Regions from separate parts of the Homo sapiens genome. Here regions 2 and 3 are each linked to region 1. The links are contacts of gene promoters, found by promoter capture Hi-C in blood cells and fetal thymus (Javierre and others, 2016). All regions are on one chromosome and are shown on one strand. The core of a region is centred on a gene start or on the middle of the fragment in contact, and the rest is flanking DNA. Distances in the headings are between cores, read along the strand shown.

Region 1 (4,904 bases), core at 2,034-4,533:
TTACTGCTCAGAGGGATGGAGAGAGTTAATGAGTCATTCTGCCTGGAAAGGATGAGGGAGAGAGCCTTGGCCCTTGCAGAGGTCACCCAGCACCACCTCCCAACCACCCCCTCCCAGGAGTCAATGGCAGCCTCTGACATCAGCCACAGCCATAGGCTCTATCCTCCGTCTCCCACACCACCTCCACCCCTTTCAGAATGGCCATAATTCTCCACAGGAAGGCAGCAGCAGGGCCTTGATCATCATCTGCATGGCCTGTCCCATAATAACCGCCTTCCCCCTCCCCCCACCTCGCTGAGGCAGGCCTGCAGACACACATGTGCAGGAGAGGCACATGCCCCAGCAGATCAGAGGGAGGAGCCGGGGGAGCTGGCACCCCACCTGCCCAGCTCATCCACTGCACCTCCTCTCTGAAAGGTAGAGGGCCTAGGCACAGGCTGGCGACGGGGGAGAGGCCCTGCTGTCTTCCTTGGGGACTGAGGGCTGGAAACAATGCCTTCAGGCAGGTTTCCTGAGTCTAAAGATATACCTGCACCCCTAGCTGCTTTCCCAGTTGGTCACTCAATAGAGAAGGAGCACACCAGGCACAGTGGCTCACTTTGGGAGGCCGAGGCAGGAGGATGGCTTGACCCCAGGAGTTCAAGACCAGCCTGGGTAACATAGCAAGACCCCGTCTCTATTTTTAAAAATTAAAAAAAAAAAAAGTTTTAATAGAGAAGGAGCAAGAGTCCCCTGTGTCTCTGCTGGAGGTGAGTGCTGAGGGTGGGGACAGCTTTTAAGGGGGAAAGTGGACCCAGCACCTGCCTTGGGGAGATAATTCCACAGAAGAGACAAGCAAACACATACAAACCATTCAACAAATCAGGACCAGAACTAAGCCCCTCAAGTGATACTGACAGTAAGGGTGTGGTGGGAGGAGCCAGCATTCCAGAAGACCAGGATGGTCTAGGAAGGTTTCCTGGAGGAGGTTTTGAGGAAGGGGCCGGGTACCTCTAGGCAGCCTCTGCTCACAGGATTCCCCGACTGCATCACCGGGGTGGAAATCGGGGGCCAGGGGGGTGACTCCCCTGTTCTATATGGGCTCCAAGTGCCAGGCCTGGCTCTGAGCAGATCCTGTCCCTTTCACCCTGTCTGGTGTTGGGGAGACAGCGAGAGTGCATGGGGCCCCGGCACTGCTCCCCATTTTTAGGGCTCCCCTCTGCCTCTGTGAGGTGGTGGCAGGACACAGAACTCCCTCCCACAGGGAGCAGGGCCTGGGCCAGGGGCAGTTCCAGTGTGAGTTTTTCCACTCCCAATATTCTTGCCCAGTGAATCTGGCTTAAAAGCAGCCTCAAGGTCACTGTAAAGGGAAGAGATTCCGTCAGAGTCAGAGCCCAGCACGTGCTGCGCCTGGGTAAGGGTGAGTGGGAAATGCAGAGGCCTCGTGGGGCCTTGCTCAGCCTGACAGGGCCCCTAAAGTGCAAAGACTAGGGTGAACACCCCAACGCCCTGTCTTTTCTTTTTTTCCTTTTTTTTTTTTTGCAACAGAGTCTCGCGCTCTGTCATCCAGGCTGGAATGCAATGGTGTGATCTCAGATCACTGCAACCTCTACCTCCCAAGTTCAAGCAATTCTGCCTCAGCCTCCTGAGTAGCTGGGATTACAGGTGCCTGCCACTATGCCTGGCTAATTTTTGTTTTTTTGTTTTTGTTTTTGTTTTGAGACGGAGTCTTGCTCTGTCACCCAGGCTGGAGTACAGTGGCTTTATCTTGGCTCACTGCAACCTCTGCCTCCCGGGTTCAAGTGATTATCCTGCCTCAGTCTCCTGAGTAGCTGGGATTATAGGCATACGCTACCACTCCCGGCTAATTTTTGTATTGTCAGTAGAGACGAGGTTTCACCATGTTGGTCAGGCTGGTCTCAAACTCCTGACCTTGTGATTTGCCCGCCTCAGCCTCCCAAAGTGCTGGGATTACAGGCATGAGCCACTGTGCCCAGCCCATGCCCTGTCTTTTCAAGCTTTCTGCACATACCAAGACCCCCAGCCCAGCTCACTCAGACAAAGCTACTGGCGGGAAAGTGTGAGGAAGGGTGTGGGCGTGGCCCAGGCCCTCCTCTTCTCTCTGCCGTATACTGATAGGGCTGCCCCGCCCCCCCCCGCCCCCCCGCGACTCAGCCACGAGAGGTCATCCTTGCTCCAGCACAGACCCCTAAGAACCCTCACTCGGAACAGGACTTTGGGAAAGGTGGTTTCTATAAATAGATGAGTAAATAAATTGACAGTTGAATATACCAAGCGTCCTGGGGACCGCAGGAGGAACTGTGTACAGATGGCTTGAAGGCCAGAGGCTTGGGTTGTTGTCCTGGCCCTGCCACTGGCCAGCTGTTTGACCTTGAACAAGTCAGTTCCACTCTGTGGACTTCAGGGTCCTCACCCAGAAGAAGAGCAGCCATATGGTCTCTACTGCCTGGTAAACACCCTGGCTCACTCTCGCGAGACGGTGGTTCTCAAAGTGTAGTGTGTAGTCCACACAACACCTGCATTGCAACCACTGGGTATTTATTTATTTATTTATTTAATTTATTTATTTATGACGGAGTCTCACTCTGTCGCCCAGGATGGAGTGCAGTGGCACGATCTTGGCTTACTGCAACCTCTGCCTCCTGGGTTCAAGTGATTCTCATGCCTCAGCCTCCCGAGTAGCTGGGACTACAGGTGCCTGCCACATCACCCGGCTAATTTTTTGTATTTTTAGTAGAGATGAGGTTTCACCATGTTGGCCATGCTGGTCTCGAACGCCTGACCTCAAGTGATCTGCCCACCTCGGCCTCCCAAAGTGCTGGGGTTACAGGCGTAAGCCACCGCGCCTGGCCAAGGGAAGTTTTTTTCTTTTCTTTTTTTCTTTTTTCTTTTCTTTTCCTTCTTTTTTTTTTTTTTTTTTTTTTTTTTTTTTTTTTTTAACACAGGTTTCTGAGCCTCAATTCCAGATCAGCTGAGCCTGGAGTTTCTGAAGACAAGGGCTAGAAATCTGCACTTTAAAGTCTTGAAAACCACTGTGTGCCTTCATCTAAGCTGCCCCTGCTTCTCTCCCCTCCATCCCTCGCCTGGCCCTGTCCTCCCTACTCTCCCCTGCACCCTCCCCCGCCCCAAGCTCCCCACAAACGGCCAAAGCAGCAGTGTGAGGCAATCGCTCTATCCTTGACCCCTTCCTTTGCACAGTGAGTGATGGCGTTTTTATCTCCTGATGATGATGCACAGCCTTCAGCGGGGGACATTTAAGACGCAGAACACCAGGTCCAGGCTGCAGCTGCGGGACTCAGAGGCGAAGCTTGAGGGGCTCAGGAAGGACGAAGAACCACCCTTGAGAGAAGAGGCAGCAGCAGCGGCGGCAGCAGCAGCGGCAGCGACCCCACCACTGCCACATTTGCCAGGAAACAATGCTGCTAGCGACATTCAAGCTGTGCGCTGGGAGCTCCTACAGACACATGCGCAACATGAAGGGTGAGCGCTGCGGGAAGGAGGCGATGAGGGGTTGGCCAGCTCTCAGCGGATGAGGCTCAGGCCACCCAATTCTGATCCTAGTTGTGCCTCTTACTGGGTGAACCTGGGCAAGTTTCTTCCCTTCTTGAATCTCAGTTTTCCCCTCGGAAGAAGTGGGCTGGTTACTAAGATATATCCCTTCCAGATTCTATAATTTCTGGTCTCCCCTCCAGGACTCCAATCTTTTTTTCTCCTTTTCTTTCATTTTTATTCTTTTTCTTTCTTCCTTCCCTCCTTCCTTTCCTTTCTTTCTTCCTTTCTTCCTTCCCCTTTTCCTTCATTCGTTCTTTTTTTCTTCCGCCTTTTCTTTTTTTTTTGTTTGAATAAAGGTCTCTGTCACAGAGGCTGGAGTACAGTAGAACAATCATAGCTCACTGCAGCCTCAAACTCATGGGCTCAAGCCATCCTCCCACCTCAGCCTCTTGAGTACCTGGGACTACAGGCGTGCACCACCACAACCAGCTAGTTTTATTTATTTATTTTTATTTTTATTTTTTTTAGAGACAATGTCTTGCTATATTGGTCACGCTGGTCTTGACCCCCTGGGCTCAAGGGATTCTCCCACCTTGGCCTCCCAAAGTGCTGGGATTACAGGTGTGAGCCGCCACACCTGGCTTACTTTATTTTGAGATGGAGTCTCACTCTGTTGCCCAGCCTGGAGCGCAGTGGCACGATCTCGGCTCACTGCAACCTCCGCCTCCTGGGTAGCTGGGATTACAGGTGCATGCCACCACGCCTGGCTAGTTTTTGTATTTTTAGTAGAGACAGGGTTTCGCCACGTCGACCAGACTGGTCTTGAACTCCTGACCTCAGGTGATCTGCCTCCCAAACTGCTGGGATTATAGGCATGAGCCATGGCGCTCAGCCTATTTTATTTTTGAGGCAGTCTCGCTCTGTTGCCTAGGCTGGAGTGCACTGGCGCTATCTTGGCTCACTGCAGCCTCTGCGTCCTGGGTTCAAGCAATTCTCCTGCCTCAGCCTCCTGAGTGGCTGGGACCACAGGCGTGCACCACCATGCCTGGCCATCTTTCTTGAACTATTCCTGACTTTGCCTTCCTTCAGAGCTGGACAAGTCTTGTAGCAGGGGTACACAGGAAAGTCTTGCCCACAGTGGCAGAGTAAATATTAGACTTGACTCCCACAGGCAAAAAAAGACGGAGAAGAGACATAGGGGAGTAAGACAGGAGGGCAAGGTAAAGAGATAAGACGGAAGACTGATTATCATTGAATAGCCAGGAAGGGGCAGAAACCAGCTACAAGAGGCCACTTTTGTAGAGCTGATTCGCATCCAAGGTCATTTGAATCAATCCCCTGCTGCCACTGAAGGGTACACAAGTCAATCTAGGCACGATCTTTCCAATTACACTGGATTGAATTAGCTACCT
Region 2 (4,904 bases), core at 1,731-4,230, 300 kb after region 1:
CAGAGGAACTGGGTCTATGTGGTGCTCCTTCTTCTTCATCCTTTTTTTTTTTTTGAGTCAGGGTCTCACTCTGTTACCCAGGCTGGAGTGCAGTGGTGCAATCATAGCTCATGGCAACCTTTTAACTCCTGGGCTCAGGTGATCCTCCTGCCTTAGCCTCCCAAGTAGCTGGGACTACAAGTGCACACCACTATACCCTGCTATTTGTTTTGAGAGGGGCTGCGGTCTCACTATGTTGCCCAGGACAGTCTCGAACTCCTGGCCTCAAGCTGTCTTCCCACATCAGACTCCCAAAGTGTTAGGGTTACAGTCATGAGCCACGTGCCTGGCCCATTTGGTGCTTTGGATAGGCCCACCTAGGACAGGAATTCACGGGAGTTGAACTCCTCTTTACTGAATGCCAGCCCTCACTTTAGGAGGTACTCCTGGGGACACAAGGATGAGAAAGCCAGCTTGTTCCCATAGAGACTTCCATTCAAAGAGAAAGTCAAACAACGAACTAGAATGTACACAGCCAATCGAGGGAGGAAGAGGACTGCATTCAGGTGCCAGATCCTCCTCTTCCTCAGTGCCTTCCTCTACTCTCCCCTCTACAAAGAACTCTGGCCTCAATGTCAGCATTATACATCTGGACCACAGCTGGGCTGCTGTTCAATGGCCTCCCCATGACTAGCTTTCTGCTCTGGCCAAGCCCACCCTGGGCACTCGGGGCATCTGTTAAAAAGATAATCACTGCCAGGCATGGTGGCTCATGCCTGTAATCCCAGCACTTTGGGAGGCCGAGGTGGGCAGATCACCTGAGGTCAGAAGTTTGAGACCAGCCTGGCCAACACGGTGAAATCCCATCTCTACTAAAAATACAAAAACTAGCCAGGCATGGTGGTGGGCGCGTGTGGTCCTAGCTACTTGGGAGGCTGAGGCAGAAGAATTGCTTGAACCCGGGAAGTGGAGGCTGCAGTGAGCTGAGACTGTGCCACTGCACTTCAGCCTGGGCGACAGAGTGAGACTCCTCTCAAAATAAATAAATAAATAAAATTAAAAAATAAGATAATCACTACCAGGAATGATAACTCTTAGAAGAACTGGGAGCAGTGGAGAGGGCACCAAGATGATTTCCACGTCTGTCCAGATTTCCTGGAGCAAGGCAAATACATTTCCCAAATAAATGGACTTCTTCCTGAGAAAGTGGAGAACCCCAAACTTACACATCTTAGTAGAGGGCGCCATCTTCTGGCCTGGACCCTGCCCCCTCCCAGCCTGTGTGTGCCCGAGGACCAGGCTCTCCTAGGCTCCCAGTAAGTACATCATGTGTGACTGGGAAAGACAACCAGCTTTCTCCTTCCGTGGCTGGCTGCAGGATCATAAAACTGCTTTTCCACTTTACAATCAATCAGGTTGGGTCAGGCAGGATTTCAAGGCTTCTGTCCTAGGTAGATGGGCTCTGTAAAGTCCCGCTTAAAAAAAAAGTGAAGGTAGGTTCAAGATCTGCACACAACTGGGGATGAGGGGAGTCTGATGCTCTGCTGTGTGATCATGCAAGGAACTGTTCCCAGTGCAAGTTATGTCGCTTTCAGGGACACTTTCTTCATCCAAATAAGAATGTCAACCACACTAAAACTAATGGATGTCTCTGAGTGGTGTGTGTGTGCGGGTGCGCATGTGCAAATGTATCTTAATATTTAACTGTCAGACAGCCAGAAATAAGCTCTCATCCTGTATCTCACGCTAGTGGGGAGGTCTAGAAAAGGCGGGGGGGCTTGGACTGCCGGATCCCACCCACGATTAATGTGCTGAAGCCCCCTTCTGTTATGATACTAAAGTAATTCAAATTGAAGAGAAAGGACCGTTGGGTATTATTGTGTCTCTTGGCCCTCCAATGTGAGCGATCCCCATGGGAATGGACGGGATGTCTCTGAAAAGGAGTAGTGATTCTCACACTCTGAGAAAGCAGTCTCTTAGGGAAGGGATGGTGTCTTTAGGTTTGGATATCACGTGTAAAAACTGGGTGTGGAAAAGAAGGGAGTGACACTTCTTAAAGGTATGTTTTATTTTGTTTGAGATGGAGTCTCGCTCTGCCACCCAGGCTGGAGTGCAGTGGCGCGATCTTGGCTCACTGCGCCTCCTGCGCCTCCTGGGTTCAAGCGATTCTCCTGCCTCAGCCTCCTGAGTAGCTGGGATTAGAGACGTGCACCACCACGCCCAGCTAATTTTTGTGTATTTTTAGTAGAGACGGGATTTCACCATGTTGCCCAGGCTGGTCTCAAACTCCCGAGCTCAGGTGATCCACCTGCCTCGGCCTTCCAAAGTGCTGGGATTACAGGCGTGAGCCACCACGCCCAGATAGCTCAAGGTTTTTTAAAAAACATCTGAATCTGCGTGCTTGCGCCGCTCCAGGTCTCCATCACTCCATATTCTTTCACTCCAAACTCCTTTAGACATTCCTGCCTGGCCTCCAAAAGCGTTTGGGTTTGCATCTCTGGATTTTTTTTTCAACTTCCTCATTTTACAGTTGAGAAAAACAGGAGGTAAAGAGAGGAAGGAATCTGCTTTAGGAAGCAGCTCTGGAAAGCAGAACACAGTTTCCTGCTCCCGCTCTCTCTCCACTACTCTCCCTTTAAAAAATATACTTTCTTCTATGGCCAATTAAACATTCATTACCAACCTGCGATTCCCTTAGGACTTTAAAAGGAGGGTTGTTCAGGGGTGACAACAATCTTCTGTCTGTTATACGTGTCCATGTAGGCAAAAACTTTCCCAAATTCAACCCCAGTCTAGGTCCCAAAAACTAACTACAGAGTGCAGGGAAACCAGACAGCTACAGTTCAGCCCAGGAACCTCCTCTCCTAGCTCACGTTTCTACCCGAGCCCGCGGAGGCACAGACCGGAAGTGGCGCGCAGCCTCCCAGCGGAGGGAACCGCCTATGCCTCCGTCGCGCTGGCCGGAAGACGGGGGTGCAACCCTTTGAAGTGTCCCCTCCTACTTCTTGCTGCCTCACGGTTGCTGTTGCAGACCCAGGAGTCTCTGAAGGCTTCCGCGGCTTTGGGGCCGGTTGTGAGATGCCAGGCAGAGGCCGCTGCCCGGACTGCGGCTCCACGGAGCTGGTGGAAGACTCGCACTATTCGCAGAGCCAGCTGGTGTGCTCCGACTGCGGCTGCGTGGTCACCGAGGGGGTCCTTACCACTACCTTCAGCGACGAGGGCAATCTCCGAGGTACTTGTGGCCCTGGGGACAGCCTGGGGCGGTGGAGGGATTAACATCAGATTCCTTTTGCCTCCCCGCTCCCCCCATACTCCTAACTGTAACGCACACACTTAATTTGAGAGAAAATGACCTAAAGTGAGCGAGGGAGCTGAAGGAGATGGGGGCTGCCATTCATCTGTGTTTTCCCAGCACTTAGTATCGGGCATAGATGGTGCGTGTAATAAATATTGAATAAGTGAGACAGAAACAAAAGTTCCACTCATCTTGCCATGTCTGGTCATTGTGGAAGGATTGCCGATACGATTATAGCAGGTATTATTACCCTGAAATAGTTTTAAGCACAAACTGGCAAAACATCACTTTTCTTTGCTTTCCAAGTTTCTGACCAGTGCAGCCCTCAAAATCTGCAGCCATTGTCTGGGTGGGGTGGCTTACGCCTGTAATCCCAGTGCTTTGGGAGGCAGAGCCGAGAGGATTGCTTGAGCCCAGGATCTCGAGACCAGCCTTGGTAACGTAACGAGACAAGTGCCTAAAAAAATTTTTTTTTAATTAGCCAGGTATGGTGGCATACACCTGTAATCCCAGCTACCCAGGAATCTGAGGTAGGAGGATTGCTTGAGCCTGGAAGTTGAAGGCTGCCGTGAGCTGTGATCGCACCACTGTGCTCCAGCCTGGACTATAGAGGGAAACTCCTTAAACAAACAACAACAAAATCTGCTGCTAGGAAAATTGCCTGTATGGAATGTACTGGAAGGATGACTGGAAATTTGGAACACTTGGAGCTGCTTTAATGCAGTCCTAACCTTTCCCAGTCTCTGTGTATTCGGAACCTCTTGTAGACATAGAAAACCAGATGGGGCCTTTAACTGTGCAGCAGCAGATGCTCAATGATTTGAATTTTGCGTCCTGGTTTTGTGTGGTGGGAGGGCAGGGGTCTGATGAATAAAGGCTAAGCACACTATTTGTTGTTTATTATCTTACAGAGGTAACATATTCCCGAAGCACAGGGGAAAACGAACAAGTTAGTCGCAGCCAGCAACGAGGTGAGAATTGACCTTTTACAACACAGTGGCTTTAAAGAAAACTATCCTAGGCCAGGTGCTGTGGCTCACGCCTGTAATCCCAGCACTTTGGGAGGCCTAGGCAGGTGGATCACCTGAGGTCAGGAGTTCAAGACCAGCCTGGCAAACATAGCGAAACCCCGTCTCTACTAAAAATACAAAAATTAGCTGGGCATGGTGGCATGTACCTGTAGTCCCAGCTACTTGGCAGGCTGAGGCAGGAGAATCGCTTGAACCTGGGAGGTGGAGGTTGCAGTGAGCTGAGATCGCGCCACTGCACTCCAGCCTGGGTGACAGAGTGAGACTCCATCTCAAAAAAATAATAATGAGCCGGGCGCGGTGGCTCATGCCTGTAATCCCAGCACTTTGGGAGGCCGAGGCGGGCGGATCACGAGGTCAGGAGATTGAGACCATCCTGGTTAACACGATGAAACCCCATCTCTACTAAAAATACAAAAAAATTAGCCGGGCGTGATGGTGGGTGCCTGTAGTCCCAGCTACTCGGGAGGCTGAGGCAGGAGAATGGCGTGAACCCGGGAGGCGGAGCTTGCAGTGAGCCGAGATCGCACCACAGCACTCCGGCCTGGGTGACAGAGCGAGACTCTGTCTCAAAAAATAATAATAATAATAATAATAATAAT
Region 3 (4,904 bases), core at 2,405-4,904, 270 kb after region 1:
GAAAGTTAGAAAGTTGGAAGCAGTTGCCCCAATGTAACAAATGCTTTGTGATCTTGGGTGAGCCTGTTCCCCATCCCATTGCAGGGAAAGCTTTTTAGTCCTCCTCATTCTCTGTATTTCCAGCGTCTGGCATGTAAAAACGTTGGAACTGAATCTCCGAAGGCATCATTTCTCTGCATATGTCTGCTCTCTGGAATGTTCTAAAGGGAAAAAACATGTTTGTTTCAGCTGCAGAAAGATTATTTTTGAGACATACCAGTCAGTCCTTTACCAGCGTAATCGTGAATATCTGCAGGGCTGCACGGGAAGGCTTTTCATTTCCCCATAGCAAGAGCCATGCTGCCCTGACCCTGCCACATTCCGACAGAAGGACCCCTGGGATCAGCTCTGGGTATGTTTGGGAAGCCAACTCCATGTTCTGAGGCACACCGGCCCTGAGGATAGGGCATGGTTGAATGGTCTTAGCTGTTCCAGAAGGACTGAAAAGCCCAAGAGATTTCACAGTATGGATGCAGGCACGGGCTTCCCAGTGGGCTACTCAGGGGTGCCCTGCACACCACTCTTGTGTGTGGGCACAGGCTCATGTTTTTTTCTGCATTGTATTTAGCTCATTCTTTTTCTGTGTTCCCTTATTTCTCTTCATAAAACATCTTTTTGAAAGTGTAGAAAACTTAAATGACTTTTTGTATACTTTTATCTGTGCCTTGTCTTGTGTTTGACCAAAAAAAAATAAGATCCCCAAAAACAAAAACTGCAGGGTAGCCTATTTGGATAATACACAGTTTTGCTTGTCTGTGGCAGGACCACCATTTGGGAGGGTGTATAAAACTGATAATAGTGGTTGTCTCTGGTATGGAGACTGAGGGGCATGGGATCAGGAGGGGTGGGAAGATGGAATTTTTCATCCTATACCATTTTGTATGATTTGAATTTTTACCCAATGCCTGTTATTACTTAAAAATATAGGCTGGGGGCCGGGCCTTCTGGCTCACACCTGTAATCCCAGCACTTTGGGAGGCCAAGGTGGACGGATCATCTGAAGTCAGGAGTTCGAGACCGGCCTGGCCATCACGGTGAAACCCCGTCTCTACTAAAAATACAAAACTTAGCTGGGTGTGGTAGCGCATGCCTGTTATCCTGGCTACTCAGGAGGCCGAGACAGGAGAATTGCTTGAATCTGGGAGGCAGAGGTTGCAGTGAGCCGAGATCACGCCACTGCACTCCAGCCTGTGCAACACGGTGAGACTCCATCTCAAAAAAAAAAAAAACAATTAAAAAATATAGGCCGAGTGCAATGGCTCACACCTGTAATCCCAGGCACTATGAGAGACTGAGGTGAGAGGATTCTGTGTGGCCAGGAATTTAAGACCAGCCTGGGCAGCATAGCAAGACCCTATCTCTAAAACAAAACAAAAGACTAGCTGGCATAGTGGTTCACACCTGTAATCCTGGCACTTTGGGAGGCTAAGGCAGGCAGATCACTTGAGGTCAGGAGTTCGAGACCAGCCTGGCCAACATGGTGAAACCCTGTCTCTACTAAAAATACAAAAATTAGCTGGGCATGATGGTATTTGCCTGTAATACCAACTACTCTGGAGGCTGAGGCATGAGAATTGCTTGAACCCGGGAGGTGGAGGTTGCAGTAAGCCGAGATCATGCCACTGTACTCCAGCCTGGGCAACAGAGCAAGACTGTCTCAACAACAACAACAACTAGTTGGGTGTGGTGGCACATGCTTTTAGTCCCAGCTCCTCAAGAGGCTGAGGTGGGAGGATGGCTTGAGCCTAGAACTTTGAAGCTGCTGTGAGCTATGAATGTGCACTGTACTCCAGCCTGGACAACAGAGCAAGACCCCATCTCAAAATATATATGTGTGTGTATATAGTTTATAGAAATTTTATGTTGGCCGGGTGTGGTAGCTCACGCCTGTATTCCCAGCACTTTGGGAGGCCGAAGCAGGTGGATCATGAGGTCAGGAGTTCGATACCAGCCTGGCCAAGATGGTGAAACCCTGTCTCTAGTAAAAATACAAAAATTAGCCGGATGCAGTGGTGTGCGCCTGTACTCCCAGCTACTCGGGAGGCTGAGGGAGGAGAATCACTTGAACCTGGGCGACGGTGGTTGCAGTGAGCTGAGATCATGCCACTGTACTCCAGCCTGGGCAATAGACAATAGAATGAGACTCTGTCTCAAAAATAAATAAATAAATAAATAAATAAATAAAATTATGTCACTTTCTACATATCCAGAGATCCTTTTAATTCTTGCAGGACTGAGTTTAATGATAAGCAATAATAATTTGTTTATTGAAGGGATCATTTGATTTTTACTTTTGATAGGTGGCAAGATTTTTTCAGAATATGGGCTTAAAAATAAACTTGCTACATTGGGATTATGGCTCTCTTTTTCTGCCCTTTGGACTAGGGAAATGGACCCAACCCTGATTTCTGAGATAATTCAAGCTTTCAGGGCCTACGTGAAAGATAATACTGGAACACACCCACGCTGCCATCACATGCTGTGTTGCTAGGCTGGGACTTTATTATTTATGAGCTACTTCTGTGAGGTGCAGGAATTAAGTGAACTGAAAAACACATGGGCAGTAACACTTAGAAACTGGGTTGATCTTAAATATAAAAATCCCCAGATGTGTTCTTCTGGTTTGGGATTTCTTAGGGCAAGATATTCAAGCACTGTGGCTTTCACTGTCTTATCAAAGTATGCTTCTATCAAACATCCCTTGCTTAAACTGTTTTTGAATTTGAGGATAATATTGCTAGTAAAAGAAACAATTCTTGGCTGGGCACAGTGGCTCACGCCTGTAATCCCAACACTTGGGGAGGCTGAGGCAGGCGGATCACCTGAGGTCAAGAGTTTGAGACCAGCCTGGCCAACATAAAATTAGTTGGGCATAGTTGCGCACGCCTGTAATCCCAGCTACTCAGCAAGCTGAGGCAGGAGAATCGGTTGAACCCAGGAGGAGGAGGTTGCAGTGAGCTGAGATCACGTCACTGCACTCCAGCCTGGGCGATAGAGTGAGACTCAGTCTCTAAAACAAACAGACAAACAAACAAACACCAAGAAAAAAAAACCAGAAAAAAAAAAAAACGAAACAATTCTTGTTTTGCTTTCCAGCTTTAATACATGGAGCACAGATTTGTAAATTCTGCCTCTTTGCCTGGGCTGTTTCCCTGCTGGCCTGTGATTCAGCCTGTTTCATATCCTTCAATAGCCCCGTGGCTGGTGCCTGGCTACCTGGTGTTTGGCTTTAGGTTTGCTTGTGAAATTAAGCAGCAAGAACAGTTGGTGACGTTTATATTTGCACTTCCTAATGGTGTTGGAAGTTTCCAAAGCAAATCCCACTTTAGGACCCAGGGATTGGACCTGAGAATCAGGTAATAATTGGTCCCGAGGGAGGATTCTGGAATCGGTTGTAGTTTTGCTCAAAAACCATTAGGAAGTGCAAAGAAAACCTCACTGATACTTTCGGAAAGGCAAGGCTGGCCCTTGGAATTGTCAACTGGCTATGTTACAGGAAAGGGGTCCTGATCCAGACCCCAAAAGAGAGTGTTTGGTCTCCCGCAAGAAAGAATTCAGGGCAAGTCTGCAGTGCAAAGTAAAAGCAAGTTTATTAAGAAAGCAAAGTATTGAAGGTACAGCTACTCCATAGACAGAGTAGGACGTTCCCGAAAGTAAGAGGAGGAACACCTCCACTCTAGGCACTATGCTTATTCATACACAGGATAAAAAGATCATTGAGAGATGTGCCCTACTACAAGGGTTTGTGATAAAGGATTAATTTTCTTAATTACTATATTTTGTGAGAATCAATATTATTAGCTTCAAAGCAAAATTAGGATAGCCTTTGTTCTCCAGATTTGGGGATATTAGAACACTCCCAAGTCTGGGTCTGTTTGGTAAACATTATCCATCTGTTCCCTTACCCATAAACATCTAGAGGCTAGGAATACCTAACTTTCTGGGAATGCAGCGCAGCAAGTCCCAGCCTCATTTTCCTAGCCCTCACTCAAGATGGAGTTGCACTGGTTTGAATGCCTCTGACAGCTGCTTTGGAGGCCTGTCACATTTGTGCATCCCCGTGGAGGGCTAATAGAAGGGCCCGTGTGGAAGAGCTGTGGAGAAACCCCTGCCTGAAGCTCCTGCCCTGGGCGGGGAGGTGAAGCGTGCTGCCCGCCTGCGGTTGGTGAGGTCATCGAAACCTCCTCAGTTAGCGTTCAGCAACTTCTCCTTTTCAGGTGCCTGCAACTGGTATTTACAAAAGCTAAACACCCTTCATCACCAAGGCTACCATTTACCACATGACTGTCAGAAGAGAAAAATATAAATAATCCTCTCAAAATTGAAGTGACAAATATGCAGACAATTCCAGGCCAGGCCCTGGAAAATGTATTGGACAGACACTAGGCTGGCAAGGGTGACATTGTCTATAAAGACCTTGCATTTTCCACTTGAGCCCAGGAGTCCAGGGCTGCAGTGAGCTATGATCGCACCACTGCACTCCAGCCTGGGCAAGAGAGTGAGACCCTGTTGCAAAAAATAAAAAATAAAAAAAGACCTTGCGTCTTGCAACACCCACCACTCCCCGCCTGCCCAGCTCTGGATTGAGGTTATAAAAACCATAAAAGATTTGTCTCCTAAGGGTCCAAAATTATAGCTCATATAATTTTATCCTCTCCTTGCTGTATTTTGTGAATTCATTTTAAGTTCTTCTTGATGACTTTGTATACTGGCCTTTAAGTAATCTCAACGATTTATGACTGATGGCAAGCTATGTTAGTTTCCTTCCTTTCTTCTTTCATCTTTGGACATTTAAATGAGAAGCTTAAATGTTTCTCAAAAAGAATTTAAATTTGAACCCTCTTTTCTCTATGTTACAAAAGATG

The links. Contacts are between HindIII fragments. The CHiCAGO score rates a contact against its expected background, and 5 or more counts as called.
Region 2: the fragment with the promoter of BRF2 here is called in contact with the fragment with the promoter of STAR in region 1 in 5 of 17 cell types (erythroblasts, megakaryocytes, total B cells and 2 more); the score reaches 10.5 in erythroblasts.
Region 3: a contact is called between a fragment that was not itself captured here and the fragment with the promoter of STAR in region 1, in 1 of 17 cell types (erythroblasts). The highest score is 5.8, in erythroblasts.

Annotation. Positions count from the first base shown.
Region 1 is chr8:38,149,331-38,154,234 of GRCh38, reverse strand. It overlaps STAR (steroidogenic acute regulatory protein), which reads left to right and starts at 3,283. Exons shown (of 7, transcript NM_000349.3): 1 at 3,283-3,480. The coding sequence starts at 3,417. RefSeq lists enhancers at 1-720, 2,764-2,796, 3,145-3,444 and a promoter at 1,995-3,310. The HindIII fragment of the contact is 1,310 bases long and covers 2,000-3,309 here.
Region 2 is chr8:37,847,937-37,852,840 of GRCh38, reverse strand. It overlaps BRF2 (BRF2 general transcription factor IIIB subunit), which reads left to right and starts at 2,980. Exons shown (of 4, transcript NM_018310.4): 1 at 2,980-3,211; 2 at 4,186-4,245. The coding sequence starts at 3,058. RefSeq lists enhancers at 2,775-3,124, 3,165-3,304. The HindIII fragment of the contact is 8,285 bases long and covers 1-4,904 here.
Region 3 is chr8:37,881,363-37,886,266 of GRCh38, reverse strand. The region is part of intron 1 of RAB11FIP1 (RAB11 family interacting protein 1); the gene reads left to right. Among named protein-coding and RNA genes, the nearest start is that of RAB11FIP1, 16 kb to the left of the region's middle. RefSeq lists enhancers at 2,805-2,924, 4,333-4,442, 4,840-4,904. The HindIII fragment of the contact is 2,380 bases long and covers 2,465-4,844 here.